Linked DNA regions of Homo sapiens: all the other regions are linked to region 3. The links are contacts of gene promoters, found by promoter capture Hi-C in blood cells and fetal thymus (Javierre and others, 2016). All regions are on one chromosome and are shown on one strand. The core of a region is centred on a gene start or on the middle of the fragment in contact, and the rest is flanking DNA. Distances in the headings are between cores, read along the strand shown. Region 1 holds the start of MIR6793 (microRNA 6793). Region 2 overlaps DNM2 (dynamin 2). Region 3 holds the start of DNM2 (dynamin 2).

What was found. The method cuts DNA at HindIII sites, captures the fragments that hold promoters and counts their contacts. A CHiCAGO score of 5 or more calls a contact.
Region 1: a contact is called between a fragment that was not itself captured here and the fragment with the promoter of DNM2 in region 3, in 1 of 17 cell types (neutrophils). The highest score is 5.5, in neutrophils.
Region 2: a fragment that was not itself captured here is called in contact with the fragment with the promoter of DNM2 in region 3 in 1 of 17 cell types (neutrophils); the score reaches 6.7 in neutrophils.

The regions. Positions count from the first base shown.
Region 1 is chr19:10,828,530-10,832,559 of GRCh38, forward strand. It overlaps DNM2 (dynamin 2), which reads left to right. Exons shown (of 21, transcript NM_001005361.3): 19 at 507-739; 20 at 1,598-1,849; 21 at 2,449-3,374. The coding sequence ends at 2,518. MIR6793 (microRNA 6793) reads left to right here and starts at 444; the gene lies at 444-506. TMED1 (transmembrane p24 trafficking protein 1) reads right to left here. Exons shown (of 4, transcript NM_006858.4): 4 at 3,538-4,030. The HindIII fragment of the contact is 6,850 bases long and covers 1-4,030 here.
Region 2 is chr19:10,810,378-10,814,146 of GRCh38, forward strand. It overlaps DNM2 (dynamin 2), which reads left to right. Exons shown (of 21, transcript NM_001005361.3): 15 at 1,887-2,000. Among named protein-coding and RNA genes, the nearest start is that of MIR199A1, 5.2 kb to the right of the region's middle. RefSeq lists an enhancer at 1,306-2,238. The HindIII fragment of the contact is 7,280 bases long and covers 1-3,769 here.
Region 3 is chr19:10,715,935-10,719,547 of GRCh38, forward strand. It overlaps DNM2 (dynamin 2), which reads left to right and starts at 2,145. Exons shown (of 21, transcript NM_001005361.3): 1 at 2,145-2,469. The coding sequence starts at 2,309. MIR638 (microRNA 638) reads left to right here and starts at 2,470; the gene lies at 2,470-2,569. RefSeq lists enhancers at 1,224-1,413, 1,604-1,723, 3,164-3,303 and a silencer at 2,004-2,673. The HindIII fragment of the contact is 21,985 bases long and covers 1-3,613 here.

The sequences.
Region 1 (4,030 bases), core at 230-2,729, 110 kb after region 3:
TGAGCTGAGATTGCACCACTGCACTCCAACCTGGGCGACAGTGAGACTGTCTCAAAAAAAAAAAAGCAAAAACAAAAAAGATATAACAGGATTATTCTGCCAAGGTTAAGGAAATAAATAAATAAGCTAAAACAGGAGAAAAGACATCAATGGAAGAGGCAAGATACTAGAAATAAGTTGAATAAGAATCTCATAACCAGCCTGGGCCACATGGTGGAACCCTATCTCTAAAAAAATTACAAAACTTAGCCAAGCATGGTGTCAACGTGCCTGTCGTCCTAGCTACTTGGGAGGCTGAGGCAGGATAATTACTTGAACCCGGGAGGCGGAGGTTGCAGTGAGCTGAAATTGAGCCACTGTACTCCAGCCTGGGTGACAGAGCAAGACTCTTTTTCAAAAAAGTCTGGGGGTGGCCCCGCCCTGTGAGAGATGTTTTTCCAGCAGTCACTGTGGGTTCTGGGTTGGGGTGATACACAAGCCTGACCCTCCCCAACCCCTGCCCGCAGACGAAGGCCTTCATCCACCACGAGCTGCTGGCCTACCTATACTCCTCGGCAGACCAGAGCAGCCTCATGGAGGAGTCGGCTGACCAGGCACAGCGGCGGGACGACATGCTGCGCATGTACCATGCCCTCAAGGAGGCGCTCAACATCATCGGTGACATCAGCACCAGCACTGTGTCCACGCCTGTACCCCCGCCTGTCGATGACACCTGGCTCCAGAGCGCCAGCAGCCACAGGTCCGGAAGCCTGGTTCCCCTACCCTCAAGCATTCGGCCTGCAGGTTCCTGCCCTCCCTGTGTGTCCTGCAGGGTCCTGGCAGGAAACAGGACACAGCCCAAGGGTGGCACCCAGGGCTGGGCACTGTGGGAGCTGCTGCCCTGCTGAGGCCGGAGGAGGGAGAGAAGGGGTATGGGGGCGAGCCAGCCCTACAGCTCTAGGGCAGGACCCTGTGAATAAATACCCCGCCTGCCCTCTGCTGGTGCCTTCCATTGGCACAGCCCAAATGGAAGCTGGGGTAAGAGGCTGGAGGGGCAGCAGCCACAGGAGAGAGATGAGCCTCCTGGAGCACAGAGAAGGGCAGATGGGAGGCTCTGGAGGGGCAAACGCAAGGCGTGGCCAGAGCTGCTGCCGCCCCTGAGTTGTCCATTGAGGCCGTCGGGCAGGGAACCTCAGAGGGGGCTGCCTTGCAGAGCCCTGGGGGAGCCATGGAGTTCCTTAAGGGGAGGATATCGCACCCAGGCCTGCAGGTGGCAGGGACTGAGGCCCAGGAGGGAATCTGGATGTCTGGACAGGGCTTGCAGGTTCCACGGCCCCTAGAGATATTAGGGCTTGATCTGGAGGACTCTGGAAGTGTCTTTGGCTGTGAGGGTGGATCCCAGGCCCAAGGCCTGAGGGGGCCCTGTGAGTGGGAAGTGCCTGAGGGGGCCGAGGGCAAGGGAAGGTGGGACTGGCGCTCAGGTTGGGGTGGGAGGATCCCACTGCGCCTGCGCTGTCCCCATAGCCAGCCCCCACCTCAGGTTCTGGCAGCCACAGTGGCATGGCGGGGGCTCCTACTCCATCTGTATCTGTAGCTCACACCCTCTCCTTCCTCACAGCCCCACTCCACAGCGCCGACCGGTGTCCAGCATACACCCCCCTGGCCGGCCCCCAGCAGTGAGGGGCCCCACTCCAGGGCCCCCCCTGATTCCTGTTCCCGTGGGGGCAGCAGCCTCCTTCTCGGCGCCCCCAATCCCATCCCGGCCTGGACCCCAGAGCGTGTTTGCCAACAGTGACCTCTTCCCAGCCCCGCCTCAGATCCCATCTCGGCCAGTTCGGATCCCCCCAGGGATTCCCCCAGGAGTGCCCAGGTAAGGCCAACCCCCTGCCCTCCACCCCAACTGCCTGCACCCTGGGGTCTCTCCTCCTGTCTCACTTCCTCCCAGTGAGCTCTCACTACGTGCCCAGCTGCTGGAGTGGAGGAATCGTCCTCATCCCTATTTGGCTTGCGAGGAAACAGGCCCAGAGAGGCCAAGAGGCTTGTTCAGTGTCACAGAGTAGCGGAGCCCTGGTGACTCCGGGGCTCCCAGCTTGCCCTCTGCCTACTGGGGTGTGCCACCAGGCAGCTGGGGAACCCTCACACTGGGCACCTCCTCCCACTGTTTACCTTCTTCTCCTTCCTGCTCCTGCCTGCCTCAACCTACCGTGGGCCAGGCTTTATTCTCCCCACTTCTCCGGTGGGGAAGCTGAGGCCCAGGGAGGGCAGGGGGCTCACTGAGGGTCAAACAGCAGGCGAGTTGATGCCTAGGTTTGGCACTCCTGCCCGACACCCTGGTGGCTTGCGGAGGTCAGCCTGGGAACACCCTGGGGTGGTGTGTGGGTGGGGGCTGGGTCCTCAACCCAGGCCTGCCTCTTGCTCCCGGCCTCACTGCCGTCTCCCCCTCCCCACCTGTCTTTATTCTCTTTGCAGCAGAAGACCCCCTGCTGCGCCCAGCCGGCCCACCATTATCCGCCCAGCCGAGCCATCCCTGCTCGACTAGGCCTCGAGGGGGGCGTGCTCTCGGGGGGGCCTCACGCACCCGCGGCGCAGGAGCTTCAGTGGTCTGGGGCCCTCCGCCGCCCCTATGCTGGGACCAGGCTCCCAGTGGGCAGCCCTGGCCTCTTCCTTAACGCTGGCCCCGGTCCAGGGCCGGCCCCTGTGCCTGGCTGGACACCGCACTGCGCAAAGGGGCCCTGGAGCTCCAGGCAGGGGGCGCTGGGGTGTTGCACTTTGGGGGATGGAGTCTCAGGGTGGCAGAGGGGGGACCAGAACCCTTGACACCATCCTGAATGAGGGGTCCAGCCTGGGGGGGACTCTACCAAGGTCTTCTTGGGCTGGGAAAGCCCATGTAGGGCAGGCCTTCTATAAGTGCGGGCACCAAGGGCGCCTACATCCCCAGGCCTTGCTGGGGTGCAGGGGTATATCAACTTCCCATTAGCAGGAGCTCCCCAGCGGCAAGCCTGGCCCAGTGGGCTCGGTAGTGCCCAGCTGGCAGGCCTGAGGTGTACATAGTCCTTCCCGGCCATATTAACCACACAGCCTGAGCCTGGCCCAGCCTCGGCTGCCAGAGGTGCCTTTGCTAGGCCCGGAGCCGTTGGCCCGGGCCGGCCTTGCCCTATTCCTCTCCTCCTCCTCCTCCTGGGTCCCCCAGGGTGGCTGGGCTTGGGCTATGTGGGTGGTGGTGGCGGGGGGTCTTGGGGGCCTCTCAGCTCCCGCCCATGCCTCCCTGATGGGTGGGCCCAGGGCGGCCTCTCTCTGAGGAGACCTCACCCACTCCTCGCTCAGTTTGACCACTGTAAGTGCCTGCACTCTGTATTCTATTAATAAACTAAAATAAAGGGAAGACGCTGCTGGTGGCTGCTGTGTGGGCCTCTTGTGTTAGTGTTCAGGCTGGGGACATGGGTGCCACCTCCATCAGGCCTCCCATAAGGATGCCCAAGTCCCTGCACTCATAAGTGCCTCCCATCTCCCTGAGGGCTCTGCTTTCGGGGGTGTCACCTTTCAGAGGAAGCCACTCGATACAGGGGAGAGCTTTTACTTTCCTTAGCATGTGAGGAGTGGGAGCAGATATTCTCTGACCCCCTGCACACCCCCACGTGCACAGGCCTGGCTGCTGCCTGGTGAAGCGGGGACCCCAGCGCTCCACCCCCTTCCTACCCTCAGGCCCTGCTTCTCTCACCTCGTGGGGAAGCCCAAGCCTCGTGGCCCAACTGGGGCTCAGTTAAACTTTGCTTTCTGATTTTTCTCTTGTGCCAGGCGACCACCTCCATCGGCTCCCGCACGACCTTTCTTCTGAGCTTCGTGGGAGGCCCCTCCCACCTGTCTGGCTGCCCCCTCGGGGGCCGGTCTGTCCTGGCTGGTGTCCCTGAGCCCCAATCAGCAGGCTCTTGTGATTTTCTGACCATAATTTATTGACTCCAATGCCCAGGCCACACCACCCTTTGTTATAGGAGGCTTCTGCCTAGACTTTGGCCGGGCCATCCCTCATGCCTGTGTGGGGCCCCTGCAGGAG
Region 2 (3,769 bases), core at 1,156-3,655, 95 kb after region 3:
GGTGGATGGCTAACGGGCCTTTGTTTGCCACCCACAGCTTGCAGCTCCCTAGGGTGGGATTTTGTCTCTGAACCCGTGTGGAGAAGGGCACCTCAGGGCTTCTGCCAGACGTCCTGCCCCAAGGCTTGGTGTGCCATCCCCAGCATGGCCCCGATCAGTGCCCTGGCCCTGTGGCCATGCACCCCAAAGTGTAGCGTGGGCCCTGTGCTCCAGCTCTGACCAACACTAACCCCGGCTGGAGGCAGGAGAGCCAGGCCACCGAGGGGTGTGCGGGCACATCCCTCTCCTTAGAAACCGGGCCAGGCCTAGGAGTATGGAGGCCTCACATTTCTCTGGGGGAGCACCGACAGCCTGTCTCCCTGTTTTCCCTCACCTGGTTGTCATTCAGTCATGGAACCAGGGTCTACTAAGCACTCGTTCTGTGCCCAGCTCTGGGCTGAGACAAGGCAGTGCCCCCACCCCGCTCCCCCCGGGTGAATGGAGGCATTCCCAGACTGCCAGACCTTTGGTGCTAACACCAGGACGTCCTGGACAGACCAGGAAGAGCTCGTCACTGCGTTCCCAGAGGGGATGCTGTGACCTCACAGGGGCTGCTGGCCTCAGCCCCCTCACCCACCACCAGGCAGCCCGTGAATGGCCAGATGCCAGGGGTCACTGCCTGCTCCAAACAACTGTGAGAGTCCTGTCTGCTCATCCCAGGGAGGGATAAGTCTGTACCCTTGGCCTTAACAAGGGGCGCCCGGTGGCATCTCATGCTGTCCCCAGCCTGGGCAGTGACTTCTGCATGGTCCAGGGGTCCCTGGGTACTCTTTAGCCACCTCCGTCTTCATGGCCACCTGGGGCTTAGCACTCACATCCAGCCACCAAGGAGCCGCTGGAGCTGTGGGCTGGTGGCCCTGGTTCAGAATGTCAGGCCCGGGGTGGGTCGGGGTAGTCCGGATGAAGCCCCTCCAGAGGACCGCCCCCGACTAGGACAGCATCTGGGCCCCAGAGGGATTCCTGGAGGCCCCATCTCTGGCGCTCCTGCCGTGCCGTGCCCTGCCATGCCCTGCACTGGGGGATGCAGGCCAGCCCTTCGCAGCTGTCCATGGCCATGCTCAGCCCACCCTTTGTAGCTTGGCCAAGTCTGTCAGTGCCTGGGTCCCAGGCCGCCCTGTGCGTGCCTCCGTGTGCTTCCTGCAGCTCCCAGGGCCCTCGTCCTGAGTGGGGTGGGGGGCTCTGCCCACACATGCCTCCAGCGGCCAGGGAGCATGGGAGCACAGCCCCCAGGCTGCCTGCCGTTAGTTGTCAGGTGAGTCCCTGCGCAGGCCTGGGTTCTGACCCCCACGCAGATGACAGCTACAGCCACACAATCCCCATCCATGGGGTCTCCCAGCCTGAAACCCTGATGTGTCAGTCAAAAGGATGACCACCAGGCTTGCAGCCAGCTTGGGACATGAGCCGCGCTCCTTCAATGTCCTTGGGGAGGGCCCCTGGGCTCACACCTTTGACCCTAGCCCTCTGTGTGGATGCTACCCTTGGAACCTTATCTCACGCAAACAAGTGCAGTTCCTCAGATGTCACATTTCATGTGCCACAGCCCCACACACAAGCCCCAGGGACTCCTCCCATGGGCCCCTTTCCATCAGGCCTCTGTGAGTCTATACCCCATCAGCCCCTGGCCCAGTGAGTCTGTCTGTCCGCCCACCTGCCCAGGTGGCGCCTCATGTTGGTTTCCTGCTGGAAATGCTTGGGACAGGGTGGAACTGGGTTTCCTGGGCTTTGGGGCTGGAGGTGTCTCTATTGCGGTCCCTGGCTTCCCACTGAGCTGTGGGCAAGGCTGCTGCGCTGGGGGATGGCTGGGGCACGGAGCGAGGTTCCCTGCTAAGCTGCGCGCTTTCCCCCAGGTGATCCGCAGGGGCTGGCTGACCATCAACAACATCAGCCTGATGAAAGGCGGCTCCAAGGAGTACTGGTTTGTGCTGACTGCCGAGTCACTGTCCTGGTACAAGGATGAGGAGGTGAGTGGCAGGCGGGAGCAGGGCTGCTGGGGTAGGTGGGGCAGCCAGGGAAGAGCGGGTGGGCGCTCCCTCTGGGCAGAACTCAGTCACTGCGCCACTCTGCCCTGAGTCACCATTAGGACTGTAACTCGCCGGGCACGGTGGCTCCCGCCTGTAATCCCAGCACTTTGGGAGGGCGAGGCAGGTAGATCACGAGGTCGGGAGTTTGAGACCAGCCTGGCCAACATGATGAAACCCCGTCTCTACTAAAATTGCAAAAATTAGCCAGGAGTGGTGGCACGCGCCTGTAATCCCAGCTACTCAGGAGGCTGAGGCAGGAGAATCGTTTGAACCCGGGAGGCGGAGGTTGCAGTGAGCCGAGATTGCGCCACTGCACTCCAGCCTGGGCGAGAGAGCGAGACTCCATCTCAAAATAAACAAACAAACAAACAAAAAACAACCGTAACCCAGGGCTGGAGAGCAGCCACCATGTGCCAAAAGGCTTACATTGTACCTGGCCCCCATGGGACCAGCTCCTAGAGTGCAAAAGGGAGATGGAGGGTGATGGAGTCACTAGCAGGCTAGAAACAGGCCCTGACCTCCAGTGCCACTGTGACTGCCCCGTGCTCAAGAGAAGGGGCCATGCCCAAGGGTCAGGGGCTCAGGCATGCAGCCAGCCTCCAGGGGCACCGGGGTTCCATCACTTACACCTCAGTCAGGCCCCTTGCCTCTCTGGGCCTCAGTTTTTCTATCTGCGAAGTGGTCTAGGATGGTCCCTGCCCACTGTGCGGTGCTTGGCCACAGTGTGCAGAACGATCCCCACATGCTCGTCATTATGGGAAGGAAGTGGAGAGGCCCCTGGGTGATGACTGCAGGGAGCAGTGTTGAGTGCTGAGTCATGGGAGGGACTCGTTCACTGCGAGTGAGGGGGCAGGCCTTGAGCAAGGATACTGCCAACCGGCCTCTGCTCTCCATGCTGACCCAGCATCCCTCCTGATGGTCCTATGTAGAAAAAGATACATAATGTTTGACATATTTATGGGGTCCCTGTGATGTTTTATTAGATGTACAGAGTATGTAATGATCACGGCAGAGTGTTTGTGGTGTCTGTCACTTTGGTATTCCTCATTTTCCTGTGTTCAGAACAGTTCAGGTCCTCTCTTCTGACTACTTTGAAATACACAAGGCTGGGCACGGTGCCTCAGGCCTATAATCCCAGCACTTTGGGAGGCTGAGGTGGGAGGATGGCCTGAGTTCAGGGGTTCAAGACCAGTTTGAGCAACATAGCATTACCCTGTGTCTATTAAAACCCAAAAAAAATTAGCTGGGCATGGTGGTGCATACCTGTAGTCCCAGCTACTCAGGAGGCTGAGGTGGGAGGGTCACTTGAGCCCAGGAGATGGAGGCTGTGGTGAGCTATGATCACACCACTGCACTCCAGCCTGGGCCACAGAGCAAGACACTGTCTCAAAAAAAAAAAAAAAGAAGAAGAAGAAGAAATAGACAATACGTTGTTGCATTGTTGGCTGGGCACAGTGGCTCATGCCTGTAATCTTAGCACTCTGGGAGGCTGAGGTGGGTGGATCACCTGGGGTCAGGTATTCAAGACCAGCCTGGCCAAACGGTGAAGCCCCTTCTCTACTAAAAATGCAAAAATTAGCCAGGTGTGGTGGCGCACGCTTGTAATCCTAGTTACTTGGGGGGCTGAGGCAGGAGAATCACCGGAACCTGGGAGGTGGAGGTGGAGTTTGCAGGGAGCCGAGATGGTGCCACTGAACTCCAGCCTGGGC
Region 3 (3,613 bases), core at 895-3,394:
TATTTATACTTCAGTACATGAAGAGTTTCCTCAACGTTTTTGTTTGTTTGTTTATTTGTTTTTGAGACGGGGTTTTGCTCTTGTTGCCCAGGCTGGAGTGCAGCGGTGCGATCTCAGCTCACCGCAACTTCTGCGTCCCGTGTTCAAGCGATTCTCCTGCCTCAGCCTCTCGAGTAGCTGGGATTACAGGCACGCACCACCACGCCTGGCTAATTTTTTGTATTTTTAGTAGAAACGTGGTTTCACTATGTTAGCCAAGCTGGTTTCGAACCTCTAACCTCAGGTGATCTGCCCTCCTTGGCCTCCCAAAGTGCTGGGATTACAGGCATGAGCCACCGCACCTGGCGCTTTTTGCCTATTTCTTTGAGACCTGGGGTTTTGGGTCACAAAACAGGCAAATGCCATGAGCCACCCTCCTCCTCTTTCTCCATCTTCTTGTGCTGCCTCAGGTCAGAGCACTTACCTGCTCCTGCCTTCTCACTGGGTTTCCTTGTCTCTGGCCTATTTGTCTCCAGAGGGGTCAAAACACTTCAAATCCTCCTATTTGTCTCTGTCCACTGTCAGGAGTTCCAGTTCCCAGAACCCCAATTTTGCCTACAAAATAGCGTGTCTTTTCACGGGGAGAGGATTTGTTGAGTTTTAGTGGGTACTCAAAAAGATCTAAAGCCAGTTGGGGGGGTTCACACATGTAATCCCAGCACTTTTGGGAGGCCGGCCTGTGAGGGTCGTTTGGGCGCAGGAGTTTGAGACCAGCCTGGACAACACAGCAAGACCCTGTCTCTATAAAAAATAAAATAAAAATAATTAGCTGGGCATAGTTGCGCACGTCTGTGGTTCCAGCTACTCGGGACGCTGAGGCGGGAGGATCGTTTGAGCCCAGGTGCTTGTTGAATTGAGCTATGAGTGCACTACTGCACCCCAGCCTGGGCAACAGAGTAAGGACCCAGTTTCTAAGAAAAGAAGATTCATTAGCTAGACGCGGTGGCTCACACCTGTAATTCCAACACTTTGGGAGGCCAAGACGGGCGGATCACTTGAGGCCAGGCGTTCGAGACCAGCCTGGCCAATATGGTGAAACCCCGTCTACTAAAAATACAAAATTAGCTGGGCGTGGTGGCTCACACTTGTAATCCCAGCTATTCGGGAGGCTGAGGCAGGAGAATTGGTTGAACCGGGGAGGCGGAGGTTGCAGTGAGCCAAGATCGCGCTACTGCACTCCAGCCTGGGTGACAGAGTGAGTACCCCGCCTCAAAAAAAAGAAAAGAAAAAAGATTCATGATCTGCTAAAGTTGAAGAAGTGGGGGAAAACATTGGAGTGTTAGCGGCGTCAAGATCGGGCGTGAGCAGAAAGGGCACAGCATTTGCAAAGGCGTGGAGGAGTGATTTTATTGCGTTCTATCCCTAGGAAGCAATGACTTGGCCTCTACCATTTGCAGAGCGCATTGGGACCCTGCTCCCAGAGCTGGTTTGCAGTCTGGGAACTGAGATGCGCTCTGGGACTTGTAGTTTTCCCCAGTGCCAGGAAACTCAAAAATCGAGACATCGGATCCCACCACGAGGTGTCGCCCTTGAGCGAGTACGGTGGGATCTATCCTATACTTCAGAAGGCTGTTGCAGACATCCAACAATCACAAGGAAGAACGGGAGTTTTTCTGATTGACAGATATGGTTCTCAATGATAGTCAAGATTCGGATGTTAAAGCCCGCCCTCTTTTGCCTGGTTGGCTGGAGCAACGAAGTGATATTTATATGAACCAATGGGAAATTCTTAGGGAACGAGGTAGTAGCTCAATCCCCAACACCATTGGTCCACATTGTCTACTGGCACGTCTGCCTGCCAATAAGATGGTGGAACTTCGCCAATGGGCAGAGCCAACGTGCCTTTTTCGGAAACACCCCCTTCCTCTCTTGACAACTTGCTTTCTGCCGCTATTGGCTGTTGCACAACAGTGACGGTTCTTTTGTCCAATAAGTCAGCAAGACGGTCCCCAGGGGGAAGGTTTACTCAACCATAGGCCCGTGCCTAGTTTTTATTGGCTAGTGTATCCGAGTGGCGGTGCAGCAGGCCAGTCGCGTGCGGCGCGAGTGCTTTGGGCGCAGCCCCCGGGGCCGGGGCGGGAGGTCGCTCGGGTCGGGTGTCGCCTGAGAACCGGATGAGGCGGCGACCGTGAGGCCGAGCCGGGAGCGGGCGTCTTGCCGAGGCCCGGGCGGGCGGGGAGCAACGGCTACAGACGCCGCGGGGCCAGGTCGTTGAGGGTCGGCGGCGGGCGAGGAGCGCAGGGCGCTCGGGCCGGGGGCCGCCGGCGCCATGGGCAACCGCGGGATGGAAGAGCTGATCCCGCTGGTCAACAAACTGCAGGACGCCTTCAGCTCCATCGGCCAGAGCTGCCACCTGGACCTGCCGCAGATCGCTGTAGTGGGCGGCCAGAGCGCCGGCAAGAGCTCGGTGCTGGAGAACTTCGTGGGCCGGTGAGCGGGCGCGGCAGGGATCGCGGGCGGGTGGCGGCCTAGGGCGCGGAGGGCGGACCGGGAATGGCGCGCCGTGCGCCGCCGGCGTAACTGCGGCGCTTGCGTGCCCGCGGCGGGGAACCGGACGGGGTCGGGGAGGCGGGCCCTGTGGGACGCCCTGGGCAGAGGACTCCCTGCAGGGGCTCCGGAGCAGGCCCGGGCCCCAGGGGCGGTGTCACGGGCCAGGGCGCCGTAGGACAGGAGGTGCGCTGGAACCCTGCGGTCCATCTGGTCCCAGCTTTCGTGGGTGAAGTCTGCCATCTGGTTGGCCGTGGGTCTGGGGTAGATCCCTCTTCTGCTCTTTCGGGCTGTCCATCAGAGGTGAAACCGGCCATCTAGATATCTATTGGGGCGACCGCTGCGGTCTGGCTGGCTTGTTCTTGTATCTGGAGCTGCCCCCGCCGTCTGGTTGGCTGTCTCTCTGTCCTGGGCAAGCCTCCCTGCCACCACCATTTGGTTGTCCATCTGTCCAGTCCCACCTGGCAGCCCCCTGCTGTCTGGCTAGCTGTCCAGGGTGACCTCTGCTGTCTGGCCGCCCATCCGTGCCCCTCACAGACTTTAACACTGAGCAGTCCCTCTGTTGGGTGACACCAGCTGGCCTCTACTGTCTGACTGGCTAGCTGACTCCTAGGGGACCCTGTTTGATTCTCTCTGGCTGACTCTTACAGCTTGATTCCTGGCTAGCGCTGGCTCCTCTCTTCCGTGTGAATTCTTCTGTCTGTCTGGCCATCTCCTAGTCTGCCCATGACTACCCCTGAGTGTCTGGCACAACGGCTCTGGAAAGGGGTGGTAGGAGGGTAGAGGGGAGAACAGAGCTGAAGGAGGAGGTTTGGACCCTACTTCCCCTCTCAGCTGGAAGGAGGACTCTGGGGGTACCTTACTTCAGGATTCCTTTCCGAGTGCTAGAACACAGGGGCCCGCCTCCCAGCTACAGCCTACAAATTGGGGGCCCTCCTTTGGAGCCTGGGAAGGGGCTTCTTGCGTGATCAGGCCTCAGTGGCTAGCGCTGGGATGTAGCCTTCTCTGGACAGCCTTGAGAAGCCGCGGTGTGCCCATCTGTCCAGTGGGCAAACTCCACTCTCTGGGGCTGTTTCCAGGATTCAGG